Linked DNA regions of Homo sapiens: all the other regions are linked to region 3. The links are contacts of gene promoters, found by promoter capture Hi-C in human tissues and cell types (Jung and others, 2019). All regions are on one chromosome and are shown on one strand. The core of a region is centred on a gene start or on the middle of the fragment in contact, and the rest is flanking DNA. Distances in the headings are between cores, read along the strand shown. Region 1 holds the start of ZNF551 (zinc finger protein 551). Region 2 has its middle 7.1 kb from the start of ZNF671. Region 3 holds the start of ZNF814 (zinc finger protein 814).

Region 1 (4,075 bases), core at 738-3,237, 210 kb after region 3:
TGGCCAATTATGCCCCTAAGATAACGTGACAGCCTGACTGAAACTTCCCAGATCCCACCAAGAGTTAATATAAAACCCTGGTCAGTCTGCAGAGAGGTGAATACGCACCAGTCCTAGCATCATCCTGTCTAACTCCTATGCCTCTACATTCATCTCATGTCTACTCACCCCTGAGAAGCCTTGGCCACATGCTAGATCATAATCTCTGTACGACCCTCACCGTGAACACTTCTGTCCAAGACCTGTGTTGCAACACCTCACACAACCAGGGGCTCACACAGGAGACCTGTCCTTGACCTTCCCCTCCCCTTCCTTGACAACTATTATTATCATTGTGAGCAGGCTTCCCCTCTACTAAATGTGATCCACAGCTCCACCCCGGCCCACAGATTGTCCACTACCTTTTGGAAAAGTCTCCATTCTGAATCTCTCCTCACTGTTCCTGACCTACAGTTCCAGCAGCCCATGAACCATTCTCTGAAAGCTCTCATACTCTTAGCAGGTCAAAAATAAAACTTCTGATATCCCAAATGAAAACTACTCCTACTATGTACTTCCCCATCTTAGTTGATGGAGCTTCCACACTTCTAACTGCCAAAATAAAACCTTTCAGTCATCCCTGACTCCACTCTCTTTCTCAAAACTAAAAATTCAGGCAGCCCTACTTAAAAAATGAATCCAGAATCCAACTGCTTCTCGCATCTTCACAGCCACCATTTTGGCCTATCACATTCTATCACATTCACCTGGCCTATCCCAGTAGTCTCCTCCCAGGTCTCCCCACCTCATCCTTCAGTTGGCTTCCCATGCTGCAGCCACAGGGAGCCTAATAAGACCAGAACCAGATCACCTCCCTCTTCCACTCCAAACCTCCCACTGTTACTATTAAGTAACGAATAGACAACTCAACTTCTCAGGGAACCATTCCGGGTCTGACTTCTACTACACTGCTCCCTGTTCTCATGAAAAGAAAATAATTGTAGGTTCCTGAACTATCTTAGCCTCCTCTCCAAACTTAGCATATACTGGTAACTTTGCCTTGGACAACCTTCTACATCTCCTTTCCCCCGGCTGCCAACAGCTTCATATAATCTAACCTGGACTTAAGACTCTGGGCTTTGTATTTGCTCAAAGTCTCAGGGCCCAAGGCTAGACGAGTGGCGAGGCTCAGGTCGCCCAATGACCCTGGTCCAGTTTTGGAGCCAGGTGGCCTGGGCTGGCTGCACTATCTCCGCACCTCAGTTCTCAGTGCTGACTTTACCAGCTGCGTGAGCTTGGACAAGAACTCAGTCTTCCTATGCCTAACTACTATTACCTCTCTTCAGCCTGTTCTTCCCCTGAGCAACTTTTGGATAGCTTTAGGAAATCCTAGCCCAGTGTCCCTATCTGTTCACAAATCTCGAAGGCTGCCAGTGTCCTCAGAATCGTCAAATTCGTCAGGTGCAACTCTGCCTCACTCTATGTTCCTGCAGACCCGAGACGGACCCCAGGCTCCTGAATCCCCCCCAGCTTAGTCGCAGCTCCAAGTTCTGCACGCGCCAGTCAACTGCCCGTCACATTTCCGTACACACTGGGCGTCACAAACGGGTCCAATCCACAAGCGCCTTCTTGTCCAGGGTACTGGGGCCTGGGCTGCAGGGCTGTGAGCAGGCATCCCTCACTGGGCCTTAAGGCTTCTGCTGGGGGAGGTAGGCGAGACCCGGAGGACGCACAACTCACCTGAGCCGAGTCCCTCAGCGCGACTGCCGCCATTGAGCTCCGTGGACTAGGCGGGGAGCGGCGGCCGACCGGGGCGGGCATTCGAACACAACAGTCCCTATCCCGGGCCTGGCGCAGCTCACCCGAGGTGGTGTCGCAGAACCTCTGGCCCACTTTCGCGACTTCTCTGTCCCGTCCCTCAGTCGCGACCTCCACTGCAGAAACTGGCGGGCTGGACAAACAGGACAGAGGCCAAAATGACCGCCACGAGGAGGACGCCGGAAGTTCCGGCCCGTCGCGCTGCGCGTGCGCGGAAGTGTTGCTATCCTGGGCTGTCATTGGCTCAACTCCGCCGCCGTTTTGCGCTCTGCACTCTGGATAATGTAGTTTCCAAAACTCCACGGAGCTCTTCGGAGTGTGTCCACTGCTTTGACCTCTGCGAACTTGTATTCTGAGGTGCTGTGCCCCGTGCAGGGAAATGGCGACTTCGGCCTCTAGGGGAGAAGGAGGTATTTACTCCTTCTTAAAGGGGCTTTTCCCAGATTTCTGGGAAGTGTTTTCCGTAACTGATCACTTAAGTGTTTAGAGACATTATTTCAGACTCCACGAAGCTCAGGGTGCCCCTAGAGGCAAACAAATATTATTTCAGGGGGTTGGGCGCGGTGGCTCACGCCTGTAATCCCAGCACTTTAGAAGGCCGAGGCGGGCGGATCACCTGAGGTCAGAAGTTCGAGACCAGGCTGGCCAACATGGCGGAACCCCATCTCTACTAAAAATACAAAAATTAGTCGGGCGGGCCGGGCGCAGTGGTTCACGCCTGTAATCCCAGCACTTTGGGAGGCCAAGGTGGGTGGATCACGCGATCAGGAGTTCGAGACCAGCCTGGCCAACATGGTGAAACCCTGTCTCTACTAAAAATACAAAAATTAGCCGGGCATGGTGGCGAGCGCCTGTAATCCCAGTACTTGGGAGGCTGAGGCAGGAGAATCGTTTGAACCTGGGAGGCAGAGGTTGCAGTGAGTCGAGATCACGCCATTGCACTCCAGCCTGGGCGACAGGGGGAGACTCCGTCTCCAAAAAAAAAAAAAGAAAAAAAAAATTTGGATTTTGGAGCATTTTGGATTTTAGATTTTTGGCTCAGGGATATTCAACCTGTATTTTGTTCTCATTAAATAGGTTCCTCTTTCACTTTGTTATTGTTTGATATACTAAAGTTTTAATTTTCATGAAGTCTAATTGGTCTATTTTTCTTTTGTCACATGTGTATTTGGTGTCAAATCCAAGAAATTATGGCCAAATTCAATGTCATAAAACTTTCACCCTATATTTTCTTTTAAGTGTTTTATAGTTTTGGGTCTTATGTTTAGGTTTTTAGTCCATTTTGAGTTCATTTGTGTTTTTGGTGTTAGGTAAGGGTTCACCTTCATTCCTTAGCATGTGAATATTTCATTTTCCCAGCATCATTTGCTGAAAAGATCATCGTTTCCCCATTGAGTGGTCTTGGTAGCCTTGTTGAGATCATTTGACCATATACATTACTATTGCAAATGATATTGTTTTCTTAATTTCCTTTTCAGATTTTTCATTGTTAGTGTATGGAAGGGCATATGAGTTTTACATGTTGACTTTTGCATGTTGACTTTGAATTCAGCTACACAGGTGAATTTGTTTATCAGTTCTTTTTTTTTTTTTTTTTCCCAGACGGAGTCTCACTCTGTTGCCCAGGCTAGAGTGCAATGGCTTGATCTTGGCTCACCACAAGTTCCACCTCCCAGGTTCAAGCAATTCTTCTGCCTCAGCCTCCCAAGTGGCTGGCACTACAGGCGCCAGCACCATGCCCGGCTAATTTCTGTATTTTCAGTAGAGCGAGGGTTTTACCATGTTGGCCAGGCTGGTCTTGAACTCCTGACCTCAGGTGAGCCACTGCGCCTGGGCTTTTTTGTTTTTGTTCTTGAGACAGTGTCTTGCTCTGTCTCCCAGGGTGGAGTGCAGTGGCGCGATCTCAGCTCACTGCAACCTCTGCCTCCCGGGTTCAAGCGATTCTCCTGCCTCAGCCTCCTGAGTAGCTGGGGTTACAAGCATACACCACCATGCCCAGCTAATTTTTGTATGTTTAAATTAATCAAAGTTGCCAGCAAAAAAAAAAAAAAATATTAATTCCTCCCTTAGAAGTTACAATAAACATCTTTTTAAAATTTTTTTGAGCCTGTCACCCAGGCTGGAGTGCGGTGGTCTGTTCTCAGCTCACTGCAACCTCTGCCTCCCAGGTTCAAGTGATCCTCTCATCTCAGCCTCCCAAATAGCTGGGATTACAGGCGCATGTCGCCAAACCTAGCTAATTGTTTTTTTGTATTTTTTGTACAGATGAGGTTTTGCC
Region 2 (4,390 bases), core at 640-3,139, 150 kb after region 3:
TGTGTCTAGGAATTTGTCCATTTTTTCTATAATTTCCAATTTTTGGCATACAGTTGATCATAGTAGCCTCTAATGATCCTTTGAATTTCTGCAGTATTGGCTGTAAAGTCTTCTTTCTCACTTCTATTTTATTTGGTTTATCTTTCTTAGTCTGGCTAAAGGATTTTTTATTTTGTTTACTTTTCAAAAAACCAATTTCTCGGCCGGGCGTGGTGGCTCACGCCTGTAATCCCAGCACTTTGGGAGGCCGAGGTGGACAGATCACGAGGTCAGGAGTTCGAGACCAGCCTGACCAACATGGCAAAGCCCCGTCTGTATTAAAAATACAAAAATTAGCCGGGCATGGTGGTGGGTGCCTGTAATCCCAGCTACTTGGGAGGCTGAGGCAGGAGAATTGCTTGAACCCAGGAGGCAGAGGTTGCAGTGAACAGAGATCCTGCCATTGCACTCCAGCCTGGGTGATAAGAGCAAGACCCCATTTCAAAAAAAACAAACAAAAAACAAACAAACAAAAAAAATCATTTTGTTGAACACATTTGTATTGTTTTCTTTGTTTCAGTTTCATTTATTTCTGCTCTAATCTTTATTATTTTATTTTCCTTTTTTTTTTTTTTTTTTTGAGACAGAGTCTTGTTCTGTTGCCCAGGCTAGAGTGCAGTGGCGTGATCTTGGCTCACTGCAACCTCCACCTCCCGGGTTCAAGCAATTCTCCTGTCTCAGCCTCCTGAGTAGCTGGGACTACAGGTGCCTGCCACTACGTCTGGCTAATTTTTATATTTTTAGTAGAGATGGAATTTCACCTTATTGGTCAGGCTGGTCTCGAACTCCTGACCTCCGGTGATCCACCTGCCTCAGCCTCCCAAAGTGTTGGGACTGCAGGCGTGAGCTACTGCGCCCAGCTATTTATTTTCTTCTACTCACTTTGGGTTTGGTTTGCTCTAGCATCTCTAATTCTTTAAGATGCATTATTAGGTTGTTTATTTAAAGTTTTTTTTTTTACTTTTGTAATGTAGGCACTTATAGCTATAAACATTCTTCTTAGTACTTATTTTTCTGTATCCCACAGATTTTGGCATGCTGTGTTTCTATTATCATTTGTTTCAAAAAACTTTTCTTTTCTTTTTTTTTTTTTTGAGACAGAGTCTTGCTCCATCATCCAGGCTGGAGTGCAGCGGCGCAGTCTCGGCTCACTGCCACCTCCACCTTCTTGGGTTCAAGCAATTCCTCAGCCTCATGAGTAGCTAGGACTACAGGCGCCCGCCACCATGCCCGACTAATTTTTGTATTTTTAGTAGAGACATGGTTTCACCTTGTTGATCAGGCTGGTCTCGAACTCCTGACCTCAGGTGATCCACCTGCCTTGGCCTCCCAAAGTGCTGGGATTACAGGCATGAGCCAATGCGCCTGGCCTCAAAAAACTTTTCAATTTCTTTCTTTTTTTTTTTTCTCTTTGAGATGGAGTCTCACTCTGTCTCCCAAGCTGGAGTGCAATGGCGCAATCTCCACTCACTGCAACCTCCACCTCCTGGGTTTAAGCAATTCTCCTGCCTCAGCCTCCTGAGTAGCTGGGATTACAGGTGTGTGCCACCATGCCCGGCTAATTTTTGTATTTTTAGTAGAGACAGGGTTTCATCATGTCGGTCAGGCTGGTCTTGAACTCCTGACCTCGTGATCCGCCTGGCTCCACCTCCCAAAGTGCTGGGATTACAGTCGTGAGCCATCATGCCCAGCCCAACTTCTCAATTTCTTAATTGACCCACTGGTCATTCAGAAGACGACTGTTTAATTTCCATGTGTTTGTAGCATTTTGAAAGTCCACTTGTTACTGATTTCTACTTTTATTGCCTTGTGGTCAGAGAAGGTACTTGATATTATTTCAATTTAAAAAAGTTTCAAGACATATTTTATGGCCTAACATATAGTATTTCTTTGAGAATGATCCATGTGCTGAGAAGAATAGGTATTCTGAAGCTGTTGGATGAAATGTTCTATAAATATCTATTAGGTCCATTTGTTCTATAGTGCAGATTAAGTCCATTTCTGTCTGGAAGGCCTGTTCAATGCTGAAAGTGGGGTGTTGTCATCTTCAGCTATCACTGTGTCAGACTCTATCTGTCTCTTTAGCTCTAATAATATTTACTTTTATATCTGGGTGCTCCAGTGTTGAGTGTATATATATTTACAAAGATTATGTCCTCTTGCTGAATTGATCCCTTTAGCATTATATATAATGACTTTGTCTCTTTTCACAGTTTTTCTCTTGAAATCTATTTTTCTGATATACATGTAGTTATTCCTGCTATTTCGTCGTTTCCAGTGGCATGAAATATCTTTTTCCATCCTTTTATTTTAATCTATGTGTGTCTTTATAGGTGAAGGGTGTTTCTTGTATGCAATAGAGCATTGGGTCTTTATTTTTATTCATTCAGCAACTCTGTGTGTTTTGATTGGAGACTTTAGTCCATTTATATTCAATGTTTTATTAATAAGTAAGGATTTACTGCTGCCATGTTGTTTGGTGGTCTTCTCTTCCTTCTTTCCTTCCTTCCTGTCTTCCTTATTGTGAAGGTGATTTTCTCTGGTTGTATATTTTAATTTCTTTTTAAAAAATTTTTTGGTATCTGTTGTAGGTTTTTGAATTTAGTTTACCATGAAGCTTCCATGGTAAACTATATCTTATAACCCATTATTTTAAACTGATGACAACACTGATCCCATAAACAAATAACAAACAAGAGAAAAACTAATAAAAACATTACACTTTAACTATGTCACCCAGCTTTTAAATTTTTTGTTTCTATGTATATCTTATTGTACTGTCTATGTCTTGAAAACTTGTTGGAATTGTTTTTGATAGGTTCATATTTTAGTCTTTCTACTCAAGATATGAGTTTACACATCACAGTTACATTGCTACTATATTGTTTTTTTTTTCTGTGTAGTTACTATTACCAGTGAGTTTCGTGCCTTCAGATGATTTCTTGTTGCTCATTAACATCCTTTTAGATTGCAGAACTCCCTTTAACATTTCTTGTAAGACAAGTCTGGTGTTGACAAAAATCTTTCAGCTTTTGTTCATCCAGAAGAGTTTTTATTTCTCTTTCATGTTTGAAGGATACTTTCAGCAAATACACTATTCTAGGATAAAAGTTTTTTCCTTCAGCACTTTAAATCCATCATGCCACTCTCTCCTGGCCTATAAGGTTTATACTGGGAAGTCTTCTACCAGGCATATTGGAGCTCCTTTGTGTGTTGTTTCTGTTCTTTTGCTGCTTTTAGGATCCTTTCTTTACCCTTGACCTTTGGTAATTTGATTACTAAATGTCTTGAGGTAGTCTTCTTTGGGTTAAATCTGCTTGGTATTCTACGGCCTTCTTGTACTTGAATATTGATATCTTTCTCTTGGAAAGATAATCCTTCCTAATATCTTTGGGAAATTCTCGATATTATCCCTTTGAATAGACTTTTTTAAAATTATTATTATACTTTAAGTTTTAGGGTACATGGGCACAACGTGCAGGTTTGTTACATATGTATACATGTGCCATGTTGGTGTGCTGCACCCAGTAACTCATCATTTAGCATTAGTTATATCACCTAATGCTATCCCTCCCCCATCCCCCCACCCCACAACAAGCCCCAGTGTGTGATGTTCCCCTTCCTGTGTCCATGTGTTCTCATTGTTCAATTCCCACCTATGAGTGAGAACATGCAGTGTTTGGTTTTTTGTCCTTGTGATAGTTTGCTGAGAATGATGGTTTCCAGCTTCATCCATGTCCCTACAAAGGACATGAACTCATCATTTTTTATGGCTGCATAGTATTCCATGGTGTATATGTGCCACATTTTCTTAATCCAGTCTATCATTGTTGGACATTTGGGTTGGTTCCAAGTTTTTGCTATTGTGAATAGTGCCACAATAAACATACACGTGCATGTGTCTTTATAGCAGCATGATTTATAATCCTTTGGGTATATACCCAGTAATGGGATGGCTGGGTCAAATGGTATTTCTAGTTCTAGATCCCTGAGGAATCGCCACACCAACTTCCACAATGGTTGAACTAGTTTACAGTCCCACCAACAATGTAAAAGTGTTCCTATTTCTCCACATCCTCTCCAGCACCTGTTGTTTCCTGATTTTTTAATGATCGCCATTCTAACTGGTGTCAGATGGTATCTCATTGTGGTTTTGTTTTGCATTTCTCTGATGGCCAGTGATGATGAGCATTTTTTCATGTGTTTTTCGACTGCATAAATATCTTCTTTTGAGAAGTGTCTGCTCATATCCTTTGCCCACTTTTTGATGGGGTTGTTTTTTTTCTTATAAATTTGTTTGAGTTCATTGTAGATTCTGGATATTAGCCCTTTGTCAGATAAGTAGGTTGTA
Region 3 (4,604 bases), core at 284-2,783:
CACTCAGCACAAGAGAACAACTTTGACTCCCTATGATTTCATCTCCAACCCAACCAATCAGCATTCCCCAATTCATGGCCCCCTATCTACCAAATTATCCTTAAAAAACCCCAGTCTCAGGAGGCGGAGGTTGCAGTGAGCTGAGATCGTGACATTGCACTTCAGCCTGGGCAACAGGAGCAAAATTCTGTCTCAGAAAACAAACAAACAAATAAACAACAACAACAACAAAAAACCCCAGTCTCGCAATTTTCAGGGAGACTGATTTGAGTAATACTAGTAAGACTCCAGTATGCTGTTCATCCAACTCTGTGTGAATAAAACTCTTTTTCTTTTGCAATTTCCCTGTCCTGATAAATTGGCTTTATCTGGGCAGTAGGAAAAATGAACCCTCTGGGTGTTTACACGTTCATTTTAACAATACAATAATGGTTATTAATCTTTGCATTAATCTTTGCTTCCAGTGGAAGAATTTTGCATCTGAAGGACCATCTGAAATGATAGGTGAATTTGGATCTGTAGCCTTTGGGAACATCTACACTAACTCTGAAATAATATTTTTCCATACACTAGGGTAATCAGTTACAGCCAATAACCCCAAGAAATCTCAATGTGAGTTCTAAGGAGAGGCAGGATGATCCTCTGCCTAGGAGAAAGATCTGCAATCTTTTATTTATTTTTTTATTTTTATTTTTATTTTTTTTTCCAACATGGAGTCTTGCTGTGTCACCCAGGCTGGAGTGCAGTGGCAGGATCTCACTCACCGCAACCTCTGACTCCCATGTACAAGAGATTCTCCTGCCTCGGCCTCCCCAGTAGCTGGGATTACAGGCGCATGTCACCATGTGGGTTAATTTTTGTATTTTTAGTAGAGGCGGGGTTTCACCATGTTGGCCAGGCCAGTCTTGAACTCCTGACCTCAGGTGTTCCACCTGCCTCGGCCTCCCAAAGTGCTGGGATTACGGGCGTGAGCCGCCCGCACCTGGCCCTTATTTTTATTTTTTAGATAAGAGGTCTCGTTCTGTTGCCCAGGCTGGAATGCAGTGGTACGATCTCGGCTTACAGCAGCTTCGAACTCCTGAGCTCAAGCGATTCTCCCTCCTCAGGCTCCCTAACCCTAACCCCAACCTTAGGGCAGCTGGGACCACAGGCCCGCCCGACCACACTCCGCTAATATTTTTTATTTTTTGTAGAGACAGGATTTTGCTTTGTTGCTCAGGCTAATTTCTAACTCCTGACCTCAAATGATCCTTGTGACTTGGCCTCCCAAACTGGTGGAATTACAGGCGGGAGCCACCATACCAGTCAGGACGCACATCTTAAGGATACTCCCGAGGTGAAGCTGGGCTTTTCCTGCAGAAGCGCCTCTGGGAATTGCGCCCTTTACCCTCCTTGTTGCCTAGGGAACTACATTACCCAGAAAACTCAGCCTCGAATGATAGCGTAGAAGACCTCTGAGGGCTCAGAATAAAGGCGTTTCCTGTGTGCACGTGACAATGGGTCCGGACTTCCGGCGCCCTCTGGTGGCGGCCATTTTGATTGGTGTTGGATTTATTTGTAGGAGAGGCTCCTGAGCGCTAGGTCCGCACTGTGGTGACTGAACCCAGAAGTCGGGGAGCAGTTGTCCTCCGCTGCACAGAGGCTACTCTGGAGCTCTGTGACGGCGCCCAGCGTGACCCACTCCTGGGCCAGGATACGGACCGTCGTGCCCATATCTCCTGGCTGGTCGCCCTATCCTCCCGACTCTGCTTAAAACCACGTGGTTCGATGGCTGCCGCGGCTACGCTGAGGCTCTCCGCTCAGGTAATTGTGGGGCCTTCTGTGTCCTCAGGTCACCTCATCGTCACCCAAAAGCAGCGAGGTAGCAGCGCCTGTTCACGGCTCTGCAGCCCGGACGCCGGCGTTGGGACACTGAGGCGCTTGCGGGAGGGGCCCCATTTCTGACACCCGTGGGATGCGGTGGGGAGACCGGCAGGTACAGGGACTGGCGCGGGCAAAGGCCTGGAAGTGAACTGAGCCAGAAGGATGGAATCTGGGGTCCACAGGTGCCTGTTGGGAGCAAATTATGAGGCGGAGCTCCTCCTGGAAGAGCAAGCAGGCTGGGGGCTATGAACTCACGTGAGGACCCTAGAAGGCATGGAGATTTTCGAAGAAAGGAGGGATGTCATGAGCATTGTAAGGGTAGAGATAATCAGGTCCATGCATGTTTGTGTCTTTGCACAGTGTCAGGTGATATTTGAGTCAACAAAAGCCATGAGCTAAATGGAGTTCGAAGGAGGCAATTCTCTTGTGATTCCAGTTCACTTGGTAGTTGGCCATGGGCACAGAGGCTGAAGACACTCCCCAAGTCAGTCAATATAGCAAACAATACACAATAGTATACTTAACATGTAAATGTTAAAGGTTAAACATAACACTGTTGTACCCGGGCGAGTTAGAAAAACGCCACACTTTGAGACGAATTAAGAGTCCTTTATTCAGCTGGCGGCCAAAGAGACGGCTAACGCTCAAAATTCTCTCGGCCCCGAGGAAGGGGCTTGATTAACTTTTATACTTTGGTTTAGGAAGGGGAGGGGAGCTTAAATGCAACAACTCTTCAGAAGTAAAAACATGCAAAAAATTAAAAGGATAAATGGTTACAGAGAAACAAACAATTTAAAAGACAAATGGTTACAAAAAGGCAAGGTACCAGGTGTGGCGCTCTAAATCCTTCATAAGAGTTAGATATGGGCACTACGCCAGACACAAACTCAAGGCTTTATGGTGTTATCTTTTGAGCAAAATCCTGGGAACTTCATACATGGTTTGTTCCCAGTCCCTTATCAGTTAATTGGACTCCTTTGATATGTTGAGAATCTGCTTACACAAGTTAACTCCTTGAGGAAAGGGGGGTGGGTAAGGAGTCCTTAATGTCTTGTAAATCAAGGGGGCCAGGTGGAGCTCGTCTGGCTTTCTCAGCTAAGCGAGAGTCTATTCATGTGGAAACGAGGCTAGGTGATTAAGAGAGCAAAAGGGAGAGTCTAAAAACAGGATTAGTGAAAACAAGGTTGGGCATTACAACACAAGGAACAAAATAATGCTTAGCATCAAGAGGAAAAAGATATAGGAGCAAACGTTATGGAACCAGTTTAGAGGGAGCAAGGAAGACAAAAGGCATCTTGGTCTGGGCCAGTTGGTGGGCAATTGGCCTGCAGTCTTACAAGGAAGAGTCTTTGAGGTGGCAGAGCCTTAGGCAGCAGATGCTGAGTTTTGAGCTGCTGAAGGCCTAATCTTTTACAGTTACAGAATACTCTGGTGAGAACTGATAGTGGAAGAGTTTCCTTGTTTGTGACCTTACCTGGTTAGATGTAGTCTTTATTTTTTATTTTGTTTTGTTTTCTTGAGACGGAGTTTCGCTCTTGTTGCCCAGGCAGGAGTACAATGGTGTGATCTCGGCTCACTGCAATCTCTGCCTCCCGGGTTCAAGCGATTCTCCTGCCTCAGCCTCCCAGTAGCTGGGATTACAGGCATGCGCCACCACACCCGGCTAATTTTTTGTATGTTTAGTAGAGACGGGGTTTCTCCATGTTGGTCAGGCTGGTCTCAAACTCCCGACTTCAACTGATCCGCCCGCCTCAGCCTCCCAACTTGCTAGGATTACAGGCATAAGCCACCACACTCAGCCTATTTTATTTATTTATTTATTTTACTGAGACAGCGTCTCAGTCTGTCACCCAGCCTGGAGTGCAGTGGTGTGATCTCAGCTCACTGCAACCTCCGCCTCCCGGGTTCAAGAGATTCTCTTGTTTCAGCCTCCCGAGTAGCTGGGATTACAGGCACCCGCCACCACACCTGGCTAATTTTTTGTATTTTTAGTAGAGATGGGGTTTCGCCATGTTGCCTAGGCTGCTTTTGAACTCCCAAGCTCAGGCAATCCGCTCGCCTCGGCCTCCGAAAGTGCTGGGATTATAGGCGTGAACCACCGTGCCTGGCCGTCTTTTTTTTTTGTTTATTAAACAAAGCATCTTACCCTTGATGGCAGAGTGCCCTGTGAAATACAAATTGTCTTTTTCTAAGATGGAGTTAGTTATGTCAAGTGTGCTCTATACAAAGGACAGGATCAAAATCTGGATTTTAAAGGTTTTCCGAAGGCCAATCAAAGGAAGAACAGAGTGGAGAGAAGTGATGAGCACCGTGGGGCCCTGGGAGGTTGAATCTTTGTTGTAGATCACATAGGTGGCAGAGATGACATTTTACATTGAGGCATGCAGGTCAGACAAGCAGTCTGAGGTCACCTGACTCCAGGGCCAAGGAGGGGTACCTGGAGGTCTGAGCTTATCACATCCTATCAGGGACACATTCCTGTAATGTCTGCCTCTCCTCCAAGCACTTAGAAGCATTTTAGGAACTCAGATAAGGAAGTGGAGAGTGTTCCATTCCCTCACTGGTACTGACCCCGACCTATATGTTCTCTAGCTTGTGGTGTTGTGGGACTCTTTATTTTTTATTTTTAAAAATATTTTCTTTTTTAAATTTTAAATTTTTGTGGGTATATAATAGGTGTATGTATTTATGAGTTACAGGAGTTATTTTGTTTTTTTGTTTTTTTTTTTTTGAGAAGGAGT

Evidence for each region. The method cuts DNA at HindIII sites, captures the fragments that hold promoters and counts their contacts. A contact is called where the count stands out against the background at its distance.
Region 1: a contact is called between the fragment with the promoter of ZNF551 here and the fragment with the promoter of ZNF814 in region 3, in 1 of the 25 tissues and cell types used here (spleen).
Region 2: a contact is called between a fragment that was not itself captured here and the fragment with the promoter of ZNF814 in region 3, in 1 of the 25 tissues and cell types used here (liver).

What each region holds. Positions count from the first base shown.
Region 1 is chr19:57,679,889-57,683,963 of GRCh38, reverse strand. ZNF551 (zinc finger protein 551) reads right to left here and starts at 1,987. Exons shown (of 3, transcript NM_138347.5): 1 at 1,720-1,987. The coding sequence starts at 1,800. RefSeq lists a silencer at 1,547-1,616 and an enhancer at 1,672-2,295. The HindIII fragment of the contact is 9,267 bases long and covers 1-4,075 here.
Region 2 is chr19:57,732,509-57,736,898 of GRCh38, reverse strand. No RefSeq gene overlaps it. Among named protein-coding and RNA genes, the nearest start is that of ZNF671, 7.1 kb to the right of the region's middle. The HindIII fragment of the contact is 4,717 bases long and covers 1-4,247 here.
Region 3 is chr19:57,885,966-57,890,569 of GRCh38, reverse strand. It overlaps ZNF814 (zinc finger protein 814), which reads left to right and starts at 1,533. Exons shown (of 3, transcript NM_001144989.2): 1 at 1,533-1,803. The coding sequence starts at 1,768. RefSeq lists enhancers at 1,823-1,872, 1,546-2,088, 2,089-2,632, 2,657-3,389. The HindIII fragment of the contact is 24,676 bases long and covers 1-4,604 here.